Linked DNA regions of Homo sapiens: region 1 is linked to region 2. The links are contacts of gene promoters, found by promoter capture Hi-C in blood cells and fetal thymus (Javierre and others, 2016). All regions are on one chromosome and are shown on one strand. The core of a region is centred on a gene start or on the middle of the fragment in contact, and the rest is flanking DNA. Distances in the headings are between cores, read along the strand shown. Region 1 overlaps ARHGAP9 (Rho GTPase activating protein 9). Region 2 holds the start of PIP4K2C (phosphatidylinositol-5-phosphate 4-kinase type 2 gamma).

Evidence for each region. The method cuts DNA at HindIII sites, captures the fragments that hold promoters and counts their contacts. A CHiCAGO score of 5 or more calls a contact.
Region 1: a contact is called between a fragment that was not itself captured here and the fragment with the promoter of PIP4K2C in region 2, in 11 of 17 cell types (naive CD8 T cells, total CD8 T cells, neutrophils and 8 more). The highest score is 9.9, in naive CD8 T cells.

What each region holds. Positions count from the first base shown.
Region 1 is chr12:57,469,242-57,476,261 of GRCh38, forward strand. ARHGAP9 (Rho GTPase activating protein 9) reads right to left here. Exons shown (of 18, transcript NM_032496.4): 9 at 6,830-6,925; 10 at 6,592-6,690; 11 at 6,242-6,374; 12 at 6,050-6,157; 13 at 5,634-5,732; 14 at 5,385-5,462; 15 at 5,182-5,235; 16 at 4,801-4,935; 17 at 4,362-4,467; 18 at 3,028-3,447. The coding sequence ends at 3,276. GLI1 (GLI family zinc finger 1) reads left to right here. Exons shown (of 12, transcript NM_005269.3): 11 at 190-457; 12 at 1,076-3,027. The coding sequence ends at 2,820. Among named protein-coding and RNA genes, the nearest start is that of ARHGAP9, 7.1 kb to the right of the region's middle. RefSeq lists an enhancer at 6,660-7,020. The HindIII fragment of the contact is 536 bases long and covers 4,869-5,404 here.
Region 2 is chr12:57,589,530-57,596,390 of GRCh38, forward strand. PIP4K2C (phosphatidylinositol-5-phosphate 4-kinase type 2 gamma) reads left to right here and starts at 1,663. Exons shown (of 10, transcript NM_024779.5): 1 at 1,663-1,934; 2 at 4,496-4,593; 3 at 5,597-5,693; 4 at 6,359-6,502. The coding sequence starts at 1,761. RefSeq lists enhancers at 1,271-1,320, 1,401-1,902 and a silencer at 1,501-1,760. The HindIII fragment of the contact is 11,010 bases long and covers 1-6,861 here.

The sequences.
Region 1 (7,020 bases), core at 3,887-6,386, 120 kb before region 2:
CAGCCTAGGTTCTTCTCATCAAACGTCTCACATTCAGTTTGCTCCCCCATCTCTTACCTGCTTAGCCCTTTCTACACTTACAAGCTTCCTTGGAACCCCAGCAGTCACTGGGACACAGGCTTCAGCCACTCATCAAGTTGAAGGAGCTGTGGGGAAGGGTGTTGCCCTCAGACCTCATCTTCTCCACAGAAGCCACAGCCAAGCCCTGGGGCCCAGTCATCCTGCAGCAGTGACCACTCCCCGGCAGGGAGTGCAGCCAATACAGACAGTGGTGTGGAAATGACTGGCAATGCAGGGGGCAGCACTGAAGACCTCTCCAGCTTGGACGAGGGACCTTGCATTGCTGGCACTGGTCTGTCCACTCTTCGCCGCCTTGAGAACCTCAGGCTGGACCAGCTACATCAACTCCGGCCAATAGGGACCCGGGGTCTCAAACTGCCCAGCTTGTCCCACACCGGTGAGACCTGGGTGTGGGAGGTGTGGCTGGGGTGAGATCTGGACCTGCCCTGAGGTTGAGAGGAGGAAGTCACCCTTGAGGGCTGTCACACAGCACTTTTGTATAATTAGAAAATGGTGTCCTTCCTCAAGACACTTTCCATTTATCAGAAAATAGTTGTGATGTACAAACATGCAAAGGCTAGCCAGGCATGGTGGTGGGCACCTGTAATCCCAGCTACTCAGGAAGCTGAAGCAGGAGAATTGCTTGAACCTGGGAGGCAGAGGTTGCAGTGAGCTGAGATTGCGCCATTGCACTCCAACTTGAGCAACAAGAGCGAAACTCTGTTTCAAACAAAACAAAACAAAACAAACAAACAAACAAGTATGCAAAGGCTATGATGCGAATGCTGTTCCCTAGGATTGTGCAGCACACAACCTGCACAACTGTTCATAGCAACCCTGAATCCTTGGTAACCCAGAAACAGAATAGGCATGGGAGAAGTAGGAGACAGAACAGACTGGTTAGGGATAACGAGCTTACCCCTGAGAATCCAGGGCAAGGCTGTTGCATGGAGGAGGCAGGGTGAAATTTAGGAAGCTCCTTGACCATCCTACCTTTTCTCCCCATCACTTGCAGGTACCACTGTGTCCCGCCGCGTGGGCCCCCCAGTCTCTCTTGAACGCCGCAGCAGCAGCTCCAGCAGCATCAGCTCTGCCTATACTGTCAGCCGCCGCTCCTCCCTGGCCTCTCCTTTCCCCCCTGGCTCCCCACCAGAGAATGGAGCATCCTCCCTGCCTGGCCTTATGCCTGCCCAGCACTACCTGCTTCGGGCAAGATATGCTTCAGCCAGAGGGGGTGGTACTTCGCCCACTGCAGCATCCAGCCTGGATCGGATAGGTGGTCTTCCCATGCCTCCTTGGAGAAGCCGAGCCGAGTATCCAGGATACAACCCCAATGCAGGGGTCACCCGGAGGGCCAGTGACCCAGCCCAGGCTGCTGACCGTCCTGCTCCAGCTAGAGTCCAGAGGTTCAAGAGCCTGGGCTGTGTCCATACCCCACCCACTGTGGCAGGGGGAGGACAGAACTTTGATCCTTACCTCCCAACCTCTGTCTACTCACCACAGCCCCCCAGCATCACTGAGAATGCTGCCATGGATGCTAGAGGGCTACAGGAAGAGCCAGAAGTTGGGACCTCCATGGTGGGCAGTGGTCTGAACCCCTATATGGACTTCCCACCTACTGATACTCTGGGATATGGGGGACCTGAAGGGGCAGCAGCTGAGCCTTATGGAGCGAGGGGTCCAGGCTCTCTGCCTCTTGGGCCTGGTCCACCCACCAACTATGGCCCCAACCCCTGTCCCCAGCAGGCCTCATATCCTGACCCCACCCAAGAAACATGGGGTGAGTTCCCTTCCCACTCTGGGCTGTACCCAGGCCCCAAGGCTCTAGGTGGAACCTACAGCCAGTGTCCTCGACTTGAACATTATGGACAAGTGCAAGTCAAGCCAGAACAGGGGTGCCCAGTGGGGTCTGACTCCACAGGACTGGCACCCTGCCTCAATGCCCACCCCAGTGAGGGGCCCCCACATCCACAGCCTCTCTTTTCCCATTACCCCCAGCCCTCTCCTCCCCAATATCTCCAGTCAGGCCCCTATACCCAGCCACCCCCTGATTATCTTCCTTCAGAACCCAGGCCTTGCCTGGACTTTGATTCCCCCACCCATTCCACAGGGCAGCTCAAGGCTCAGCTTGTGTGTAATTATGTTCAATCTCAACAGGAGCTACTGTGGGAGGGTGGGGGCAGGGAAGATGCCCCCGCCCAGGAACCTTCCTACCAGAGTCCCAAGTTTCTGGGGGGTTCCCAGGTTAGCCCAAGCCGTGCTAAAGCTCCAGTGAACACATATGGACCTGGCTTTGGACCCAACTTGCCCAATCACAAGTCAGGTTCCTATCCCACCCCTTCACCATGCCATGAAAATTTTGTAGTGGGGGCAAATAGGGCTTCACATAGGGCAGCAGCACCACCTCGACTTCTGCCCCCATTGCCCACTTGCTATGGGCCTCTCAAAGTGGGAGGCACAAACCCCAGCTGTGGTCATCCTGAGGTGGGCAGGCTAGGAGGGGGTCCTGCCTTGTACCCTCCTCCCGAAGGACAGGTATGTAACCCCCTGGACTCTCTTGATCTTGACAACACTCAGCTGGACTTTGTGGCTATTCTGGATGAGCCCCAGGGGCTGAGTCCTCCTCCTTCCCATGATCAGCGGGGCAGCTCTGGACATACCCCACCTCCCTCTGGGCCCCCCAACATGGCTGTGGGCAACATGAGTGTCTTACTGAGATCCCTACCTGGGGAAACAGAATTCCTCAACTCTAGTGCCTAAAGAGTAGGGAATCTCATCCATCACAGATCGCATTTCCTAAGGGGTTTCTATCCTTCCAGAAAAATTGGGGGAGCTGCAGTCCCATGCACAAGATGCCCCAGGGATGGGAGGTATGGGCTGGGGGCTATGTATAGTCTGTATACGTTTTGAGGAGAAATTTGATAATGACACTGTTTCCTGATAATAAAGGAACTGCATCAGAAAAAATACCATGCCACTTTATGTATTATTATGTTGGGGAGGAATGATAACAGGGAACAAGAAGAGAAGCAGGGGTTAATCCACTCACTTTCCTCTTTAGAGAAGCTCCCTCACCCATCCCAACACCTCAAGTCACACTCATGAAGATAGAGACAGTCATTTGGGAGATTTAAAGGGATATCCTCAAAACAGAACACCAGCCTCTCACCACCAGAGATGACCGGAAATATGTTTTCTCTTCTTCCTTCCCTGCATCAGGGGAAGAGGCTGGTGAAGTTGGTGAGCATCAGCTGGACCAGCTGCCCTGGGTAGAGAGCATGGGCTGCTGGGTCAGATGTCTCCTGCTCTGGCCGAAACAGGGTTGGTCCAAACACAATTCCCAGGTTGTGGGGTGTCATGCGATTCTTATCTGAGTGTGCTATCACCCTGTAAGCAAAGGCCAAGGAAGGGGATATATGGCAGCAGCTTGCCACTTCATAGCAATCTAACTAACCCTTCAAAGTTCTGAGCAGGGAAGAGTTCACTCTGGGATTCCTCCACATGGTAACAAAAAAACCAAGGAGATACAAGGAGAATGGAGATGGACCAGTGGAGAAACCTTCAGGATACAACCTGAAGATATAACTGCCTCTTCCGACTTCAGGGGCTGCCCCAAGAGTTCTGCCTGCTCACAGTTTGGGAGTCTTTAATTCAAGTGGCCATCCTCTCTCAGAAGTCACTGCCCAGGCCCAGTTCAACCAAAGAAGCCATCAGCAATGTCCCAATGGGAGACAAAGAGGCAGAGGGAAGGGAGAAGTAAGATTTCCCTTATTCCTTTCACAGCATCTTGGTTCCATTTCCCCACTTGATGCTGACCTTTAGGTTTTGACCTAAAGTCTTTGACGGGCACGGTGTAATCCCAGCACTTTGGGAGGCTGAGGTGGGTAAATCACCTGAGGTCAGGAGTTCGAGACCAGCCTGGCCAACATGGTGAAACCCCGTCTCTACTAAAAATACAAAAATTAGCCAGGCGTGGTGGCGGGCACCTGTAATCCCAGTTACTCAGGAGGCTGAGGCAGGAGAATTACTTGAACCCGGGAGGCAGAGGTTGCAGTGAGCTGAAATTGCGCCACTGCACTCCAGTCTGGGTGACAGAGCGAGACTCTGTCTCAAAAATAAATAAAATAAAAAAATAAAGGTTTTGACTCTGGTAATATGCTCCTGCACAGAGGTTGCCTGCTTCCTCACCTGCCCATTAAACTTAGGTGCTTCCCTACCTTCACTCCACCTGCACAGAGTCCCTGTGGCATTCCCCACTCCACCTTTCCCCAGCATGAACAAAGAGGTTCTGTCTTCCTGACCTGCATAAATGCTCCAGGAGGTACCGTAGAGTGTCATGGTTGGGCTTTGGCATTGAGCCTATTAATTCTTGTATCTGAGAGAGGCACTGCTCTGATTCGGAGAGTGCTAGAGAGAGTGATGGGAAAGGCATGGTAGTAAGGTTAGGGAAGGTGCTAGGACAGGATGGGTAAATGCACTGCTCTTTCCCACAGGCATGGAAGACATCATTAATCTAGCACAGCTTTCTTTTTCACATAGCCCAACTATAGCCTCATAATTCTTTTCAATTCAGCCCTCTAAACATTCACAAAAAAGCAACTGGAGTAGGCACCTGAGTTGAACATTATTTTCCATCTCTAAAGTCAGAATGGGAAAGAAGAGTATAAGGGAACCTCTATTCTATTATTTACCACCCGTGTCCCCCACATCAAGGGTTCTTTCCAAAGCTCCAACCCTTACCAAGGGCAGCACGGAAATGGGGCAGCAGCAGTGGTGGCACCAGAGGCTGGGGCAGCTCCCGGAGAAAAAGCTTCAGGGCTCCGGTGACCACATGAATGTCATCCCACTCAGTACTGTCCAAATCTAACCGACCTTCTGGAGGGAGAAGGAGGTATAGGGGCTCATGAAGGGCCAGAAAGATTTAGAGACTGAGAGATTAGAAGTTCTGGAGAAATCCAGTCAAAGCAGACTATAGGAATGCCTAGAGGGTCTGCAGTGGGGCAAGGTAGCTAAGGTGGGGATGAGGACAACCCTCCCAGGAATAGTACATGGGGGTTTCCACGGGAAGCAAAGAGGATATGTGGAAGTTTTAGGGATCTGAAGGGTCTTCCATGTAAGTACCTTGTCCTGGCTGTTCTGGGAACACATACCTCCCATCGGAGGTGACCGCACGCTCTGCAACATGAATGAGGAGAGATCAGGAGCTAAGACATACACTTCCAGCCTGACGGCCTCTCTATTCTGCCAGCTTCCTCATGTAGGACCGCCCATGGTTCTCAGGCAAGACATTCTTAGTACAACCACTGGCCCACAAGCCTTCTCACCTCTGTCCACCAGAAAGCGAAGCTTCTGGACCACTGCCAAGTTCCCGCTCACCCGATAAATGCCATCCACATCTAGACCTGGGAGATGAGGAAGGAGTAGATAAGGACTGCTGCTTGAAAGTGTGTGTGGTGAGGGATATAAGGGTGGAGAGAAAAAGGGCAGTAGGAAGACTAGGTAGAATGGGGGAGGCAGAAAATTCTAGGCCTTAGCCTGTTGGAAGAGGATTCTGGGGTCTCTGAGAAAATGACCTCTTTTATCCACAGCAGCAATGCAGAGCCGCAAAAAGCTGGGCACCGTGTCTCCTTCCCGCTGGCAGAGTGATTCCAACTGGCAGCCGAACACCTGGTCTGGGGAAGTAGAGTGAGGCGGGAAGCCAGTGCCAGCGTCACTCACAGGAGCTCTTCTCAGCATAGGTCTTTATCCTTAAGTGAGGCTGGTCCTCCTGGCTGCCTGTGCCAGGCCTGGGCAAGGAAATACACTCCACCTCCCTTCCCCTGCTTCAAACAATCTGGCAAAGGGGTACAGGTCACCCCAGCTTCTCCCCTAAACAATCTGGGGTAGTGGGAAAGCAGCAGTCACAGAAGGTTGTGGTCTAGTTCTGGGAAGCTCTACTCTGAGCCTCGCTGGAGTTTTCTTATCCATGAACCTGGCCCAGCCCCCTCACCTCGGAGCAGACCCCGCTCCTGCAGGCTTTGTAAGGGCGGTCTCTTCGCGATGAGCCGCTTTAGTTTGTTGCGCACGCGGTTCTGCTCGGTGCCTTCGGGCCCCCGAACTGCAGGAGGCAGGTAGAGCGGGGCGTGAGCGCCCGGGAGCCTCGCTGCGCTCCCGGACTCTCCCTCCCCAGCCCGCGCCTCACTGGAGCTCCGGCGGCTGCTGAGGCGCAGCAGCGGCTTGGACACCAGCTCCGACTCCTCTTCTTCGTCCTCCCCGGCGCTCAGCTCCGCGGGTCCAGAGCCCGACAGACGCAGCTCCAGGGGGTTCTCCCGATCCTAGACCCGGGGCGGGCCGTGTCGAAGGTGAGAGAGGAGAGAAATCTGTATCCCTAGCTGGACTCTGACCCACTGCCGGGGTCCCACATCCCGGCCCAGGCAAGGGCTCTCCACTGAGCCCACCCTGCCCCCAACTGCTCCTGACTCCTATCGTTCCTACCCCACTCCCTTGGTCCCGGCCGGTCGGAGCCTCCCTCCGGGCCTCCACCCATCTAACCAGCCGCTCGATGACAGTCCGCAGCGCGCGGTGCCAGGCTCGCAGCTCTGTCTCGTGGTCCGACTGCAGCAGGAACTCGTGGCCAGGGATCGTGCGGATCTGAGGGCCAGGCAAGGAAACGCTCGGGTCAACGGGAAGGAGTATAATAAGCAGGGAGACCTAGCGGGAGGCCTGCGCGGGAGATTGGGGGCGCCCTCGGGTCGGGTGGGGCCTTGGGGACGCGCGGGAGGGCGCTCACGTGCAGGACGTTGCGGCGGCTGGACAGGTGGCGGCCGTGCGCCAGGGCCGCCCCGCGCAGGTCCACGCTACTTTCGGGCCGGCTACCCGCTGGTCCCTGACAATGAGGGAGGAAACTGAGGCCACGGTGTTGTTTCCTTCACTGCTTCCCTCTCCCCGGTGGGCTGTGAGGAGGTGGGAGGCTTCCTCACT
Region 2 (6,861 bases), core at 413-2,912:
CTCAAATGGCCCTTATGCGGGCGTGACAGAGGGCTCACTTCTTGCCTTCTAGGTCACTTCTCACAATGTCCCTTCAGCACCTGACCCTATACCTGCCGGTTATTCCTAGGTTATATTAGTAATGCCACAAAGAGTAATATTAAAAGCTAATGATTTATAATGTTTATACTGATGATTGATAATTGTCCATGATCATCTCTATATCTAATTTGTATTGTAACTACTCTTTATTCTAACTATTTTCTTTATTATACTGCAACAGTTTGTGCCTTCAGTCTCTTGCCTTGGCACCTGGGTAATCCTTTGCCCACAACTCCTGACCTCAGGTGATCCTCCCGACTCGGCCCCGCAAAGTGCTGGGATTATAGGCGTGAGCTACCGCATCTGGCTTTTTTTTTTTTTTTTTTTTTTTGAGACAGAGTCTTGCTCTGTCGCCCAGGCTGGAGTGCAATGGCATGATCTGGGCTCACTGCAACCTCTGCCTCCTGGGTTCAAGCGATTCTCCTGCCTCAGCCTCTCAAGTAGCTGGGACTACAGGCACCTGCCAACATGCCCGGCTTTTTTTTTTTTTTTTTTGAGATGGAGTCTCACTCTGTCACCCAGGCTGGAGTGCAGTGGCGTGATCTCTGCTTGGCGTGATCTCTGCTTGGCGTGATCTCGGCTCACTGCTACCTCCGCCTCCTGGGTTCAAGTGATTCTCCTGCCTCAGCCTCCTGAGTAGCTGGGATTACAGGCTCACGCCACCACGCCCGGCTAATGCCCGGCTAATTTTTGTATTTTTGTAGAGACGAGGTTTCACCATGTTGGCCAGGCTGGTCTTGAACTCCCAACCTCAGGTGATCCTCCCGCCTCGGCCTCCCAAAGTGCTGGGATTACAGGCGTGAGTCACCGCGCCCGGCTTCGTTCTTTCTTGTCTCCATGTCTTTGTATGCTGTTCTCTTTGTCTAGACAGCCTTTTAACCTCTATTCCTGAACTCCACCCACCCTTCCAAACTCAGTAAAGTCTCTATCCTCTTTGAAGCCTTCCCTGACCAGCTACACTTCCTTTCTTTGTATCATTGTCTTTGCTTCATACACAGTTCTAGGATAGCTCATACTTTGCATACTGCAAACTTGATCTCCATTGGCCAGCCAGTGCCATTAGACTCCCAACTACTTCGGGGCAGTCACTGTCCTATACCCTGCTTCAATAAAAGGAAAATCAGCCCCTAGAACAGGACCTAGTACAACTAAGTGCACAATAAATACTTGTTAAATGAATGAATGAATTTCAAGACGCTTGAGACCACTGGTAAGAATTTTGGGTTTCCAAAACCCTCCCCTTCCCAACCCCCATTCGGTAAGAATGCTTTCGCATTAGCATCAGGTCCGAGGTTACTCATTAGAAACTGGGCAAAGCCGGAAGGCGGCCACTTTGCAGCAAAGAAGCCCTAGACCTTGGGAGTCAATCAGGCCAGCCCAGGCCGCACCACGGTCTCCTAGTTGACAGTTCGAGGGGCCTCGCGGGCCGCTTGCTTCGTCAGCTTACAGGGATCCCGCACGCCAGGTGAGCCCACACACTGAGCGGACATTGGGGCAGGCAGGCAGGCGCCGGGGGGCGGGGCCAGCGTCGCCCCGCCCCGTCCTGCCTCGCCCTGTTCGCGCGTCCGCTGTCCGGCCTCCGGTCACGTGACAGCAGCGCAGGTGAGCGCCGCTTCCGGGGTCGGGCGCCTGGATAGCTGCCGGCTCCGGCTTCCACTTGGTCGGTTGCGCGGGAGACTATGGCGTCCTCCTCGGTCCCACCAGCCACGGTATCGGCGGCGACAGCAGGCCCCGGCCCAGGTTTCGGCTTCGCCTCCAAGACCAAGAAGAAGCATTTCGTGCAGCAGAAGGTGAAGGTGTTCCGGGCGGCCGACCCGCTGGTGGGTGTGTTCCTGTGGGGCGTAGCCCACTCGGTGAGAACCAGCCCTAGACCCCCGCAGCCCTGTCCAAACCCCTCGGCTCCGAGGCGTCCCTGTTTCCAGGCTCCAGCCTCCGGAGCCCCACGCAGTGCCACTCCCCTCCCCCGGGTTGTCTTGGTCCCTGCCCACCAACCCCAGGTGTTCCCCCAGCAGGTTTTCTGACTGTGGACTTTTTTCTCCCCAACAGTTCTTTACTGCTCCACTCTAGTTCCACCTTCCCCCCGTGAAATCCAGCTCCCTGTGCTTTGACTCCTTCCTGCCATGTCTAGCTTCAGCCTCAGGCTACGCGGACTGGCCAGGACCGGGCGCAAGCGGGGAGGACATTAGGGGGAGTGGCTTTTTCTCGGGTGGTTGTTGGTGAGAGTGTAGGTGGAGGGTGAGGGGCCGAGGGGAGTAGATGGATGAAAAGGTTCTTTCACTTTGCTTTCCACCTTGCTTCCCAGCCCCGGTCCTTGGCTTTTGAATCTTGGTTTTGTCTCGGGGAAGCTCCAGGTTTCCTGGGCTTTCTAATCCTGCTTGTCCCTTCCTTTCCCTTCCAGAGGTACAGCATTTTAGAGAAGCTACCCCACCCTGAGCTAGAAGTTGCACACTCTCAGGACTTATGTATATATGCCTTTGGTCTTAACTGCATCCTTATCGCTGGCTAGAGCGATCGTGTTTGGTGTAGGTGGTGGCGATTGTTGACCAAAGAGAAGGCTGAGGGGCTCTGTTCCTGAGGTCACTATGGTGGTGAACTTTTGAAGCAGGAAACTGCTCTGGGAGTCAGGAGGAGGCCAAGGAGACCTCCATCCCCTTTCCTGAGGATACCTCAGCTGAAAGAAGCACAGCCATTGCCCATCTTCCGTCAGGTCTGGAGTGGGAGAAATGCAGTTATCTTGAATGTGACACGGAATATTTTCGAAATCAGCGTTCTTGAATATAGTCATGGCTAGGCTGTGGAGATGGAAGTTGTGAGGAAGAATACGCGTTTTGTCACATTTTTAATTTGTGGTAAAGAATTTCTTAACCAAAAATTAAGAATGTTGTTTGTGGCCAGTCGGATCTCTTTTGGATTTGTGGCTCTCTGGGTGGTAAGCTCTTAGTGAGTATTCAGTGGAAGGCACTTGGTATGGGGAAGGCTGATGGAGGTAGGGCTGCCTCTCATATGTACCTTCCAGGTGATTCATCCATTCCCTGTGGGATGCTTAACAGGGAGGGTTTTCCCTTGTTAAGGATTGGGGGAGTTACATGTAAGACCTACCTCAGCTTCACTAGGTATATATACTTTAGCCCCAGCACCCCACCCTCTGCCAACACACATCTACTTCAAGTGTTTGGAATGGAGAAATTCCTTGAACATATGTCTTAGTGATGATTCAGCTTGCTTAGCAGGTGGGGAGGAGGGGGCAGGAGGAGCTATAGCTGAATTTTAGGCTGGGAGTCTCAAGTGGCTTTTTTTTTTTTTTTAATCTGGAGGGATATGTTCTGTCCTCCTTTTCTACTGAGAACGGGAGGAGTTGGTTGCACTGCAGTGTGTGTGATTTAGGTTAGACTGCAGTTCATAGCCTCTGTGGAATGATCTAGTAAGGATAGGCAAGGCATTCATTTATTCAATTAATAGACATGTCAGGATCACTGTGTGCCAAACATTGTGCTAGTTAGACACCTGAAAGATGCAGACGACTAGAATGAGCCCTTGTTCTTGAAGAGCTCACAATCTAGATGGGAGAACTTACATAAACTAGTGATTAGAGTCATGCAGTAACAAAGGCAGGTGAAAGGTACTGTAGCAACACCAAGGAGAAAGCACGGCTCAGGATTTTTAAGTACTAGAGCTCCCTTTCTACCCTGAATTAGCAGACTGCAGATCCTGGGGGCCGAGGAGAGCATGTGATGCTTGTGTCCTTTGGGCTGTGGATTAGTTTGGCTTTAGGGAACAGACGCCTAATGAGCTCATATCCTCTGATTGCCTGCATTCGCTCTGAAATCAGCTGCTCTTCCTTTACCTTACACCTTAGACAGGTGGGGGCCTACTGCAAACAACTGGGTCAGAGTGGTCTAGGAAGACTGGTCCTGTTTGCAAAGAGATGCCTTTTGCAGGATATGGACATTTATCCTTTTTGCTGTGGTTGGCCCCACAGAATCCCATTAACACTCTTGTGCATTTTTAAAATGCCTTTTTTTTTCTTTTTCTAATGGAACATGTAGCTGCCTTGAGCTTGCAGAGTTTTTTTTTTTTTTTTTTTTTTTTTTTTTTTTCTAGAATTTCTCACAGCTTTAAAAATAGTCCTGAGTTGCTTACAGGGTTAGCCTAATATAAAATGACTGTTGTGAGCATGAAGTTCCATGGGGGTGGGCGTGTTGGGGGCTGTGTGTGAGGGTTGCTTACTGTAGTCCTTCTTGGGCAGCAGAAGGGTTAGACACATTCTCTCACTTCTGTCAAGCATATGCATAGCCAGTGTTTTTAAAGGAATGAGGTCTGAGTGGCCCTTGCATGACTGCTGCCCAGACACAGTGTATGGGTAGCTCTCCACACCCTTCTTCATGGCTTCCCTATTCATGGTTTGGCTTATCAGATCAATGAGCTCAGCCAGGTGCCTCCCCCGGTGATGCTGCTGCCAGATGACTTTAAGGCCAGCTCCAAGATCAAGGTCAACAATCACCTTTTCCACAGGTAAGTGATGATCCTTGCCATTCTCATGTCAACCTTCCCAGAAAGGAGTAATAAATAATTTTAAAAGTTTCAGTGAGTTGAAAATTTAACATCCTTCCCAAATGCAGAAATTAGTTTTGTGCAAGGAAACCATGAGAATAATTTCTGGTGTTCCCTATATCCTTATATGAATCAGTGTTATCTCTCCTCTAGCCTGGCAATTCCATAGAGTAAATATGTACAGATACCATTACCTGCTCTTTCTCTCTTTTTCTGCTTGTGACCTTGGAGATGCCATGAGAACCATTAGCTTCTGACAGGGACTCCTTGAAAGAAAAACTTGAATTCTCTACTAAGCCCTCCTAGGAAAAGAAGATGCCATTCAAAACAGTGGTGTCTGTTGCTGACTTTAGAATGCTTCTGACTTGCTTGAGATTTGGGAAATGCTGCTGTTTGGATGGGTAGTAGATCCTGGCTCTACTATACCACTTACCAACCATGTTACTTAGGCAGGTCACTGAATCACTCTGAGACAGTCTCCTCTTCTATAAAATGGAAATAATATGTTTTTATAGGACCTCACAAGGGCCAGGCGTGGTGGCTCATGCCTGTAATCCCAGCAGTTTGGGAGGCCAAGGCGGGTGGATCACTTGAGGTCAGGAGTTCGAGACCAGCCTGCAAACATGGCAAAACCCTATCTCTACTAAAAATACAAAAAATTAGCCAGGCATGGTGGCGCATGCCTGTAGTCCCAGCTACTTGGGAGGCTGAGGCAGGAGAATTGCTTGAACCCGGGGGATGGAGGTTGTGGTGAGCCGAGATTGCACCACTGCAGTCCAACCTGGCAACAGAGTGAGACTCTGTCTCAAAAAATAATAATAACAAATAAAAATTAAAAAAAAAGGACCTCACAGGGTTTTATGAGAATCAAATGAGGTAATATGTCTGAAGGTACTTTATAAACTACCAAGTGTATGTAAATGTAATATTGTTTGTTTTCTTACTTTGAAAACCTGAATTTCAGGGAAAATCTGCCCAGTCATTTCAAGTTCAAGGAGTATTGTCCCCAGGTCTTCAGGAACCTCCGTGATCGATTTGGCATTGATGACCAAGATTACTTGGTGAGAGTCCATTAAGGGGTGAGGGTAGCCCTTTCTCCCCAGCAACTGAGGAGTACTATTTGGGACAGCCATATTTGGAGAAATGAGAGTCTTGGCAAATATAATTCTTTACCTTTTTGTGATTGCAGCATTTTCAAAAATTTAATGAAAATTATAAACCTTGTCCTTGGGGGAAAAGATGTAGATACATTAAGAATTTTGGCCAGGCGCTGTGGCTCACGCCTGTAATCCCAACACTTTGGGAGGCCGAGGCGGGCAGATCACCTGAGGTCAGGAGTTCGAGACCATCCTGGCCAACATGGCAAAACCCTGTCTCTACTAAAGATATGAAAATTAGCCAGGTGTGGTGGCGCACGTCTAGTCCCCGCTACTTGGGAGGCTGAGGCAGGAGAATCACCTGAACTTGGGAGGCGAAGGTTGCAATGAGCTGAGATCGTACCACTACACTCCAGCCTGGGTGACAGAGCGAGACTCCTTGTCAAAAAAAAAAAAAAAAAAGAATTTTGCATTCAGTTTCCTTCAGTCCACATATGGACACCTGATGAGGAACTGTGCTGAATCTCCTACCCCAGGGATTCATCCACTTTCAGCTGACCATTTTCCTATGACTTGTTTCTGCATATAAAGAGGGAGGAAAAGAGCTCTGGCCTATTCTGTGTCCCCAGGTGTCCCTTACCCGAAACCCCCCCAGCGAAAGTGAAGGCAGTGATGGTCGCTTCCTTATCTCCTACGATCGGACTCTGGTCATCAAAGAAGTATCCAGTGAGGACATTGCTGACATGCATAGCAACCTCTCCAACTATCACCAGGTCAGGCCTCTCTCTAGCCCCATTCTTTCCCTCTCCTCCCTACTCACATATAGCTCAGCTATTGTCAGTAATAGATGCCAACTGGGGAGAAAACTCATTGGAAGAGAGAATCCATAATCATATCCAGCCCTAAATGGGATGAGGGAAGCTATTCTGTCTGATAAGATTTACAGGCTGGGGGCAGTGGCTCACACCTGTAGTCCCAGCACTTTGGGAGGCTGAGGCGGGAGGATCACCTGAGGTCGGGAGTTCGAGACCAGTCTGACCAACATGGAGAAACCCCGTCTCTACTAAAAGTACAAAATTAGCTGGGCATGATGGCTCATGCCTGTAATCCCAGCTGCTCAGGAGGCTAACGC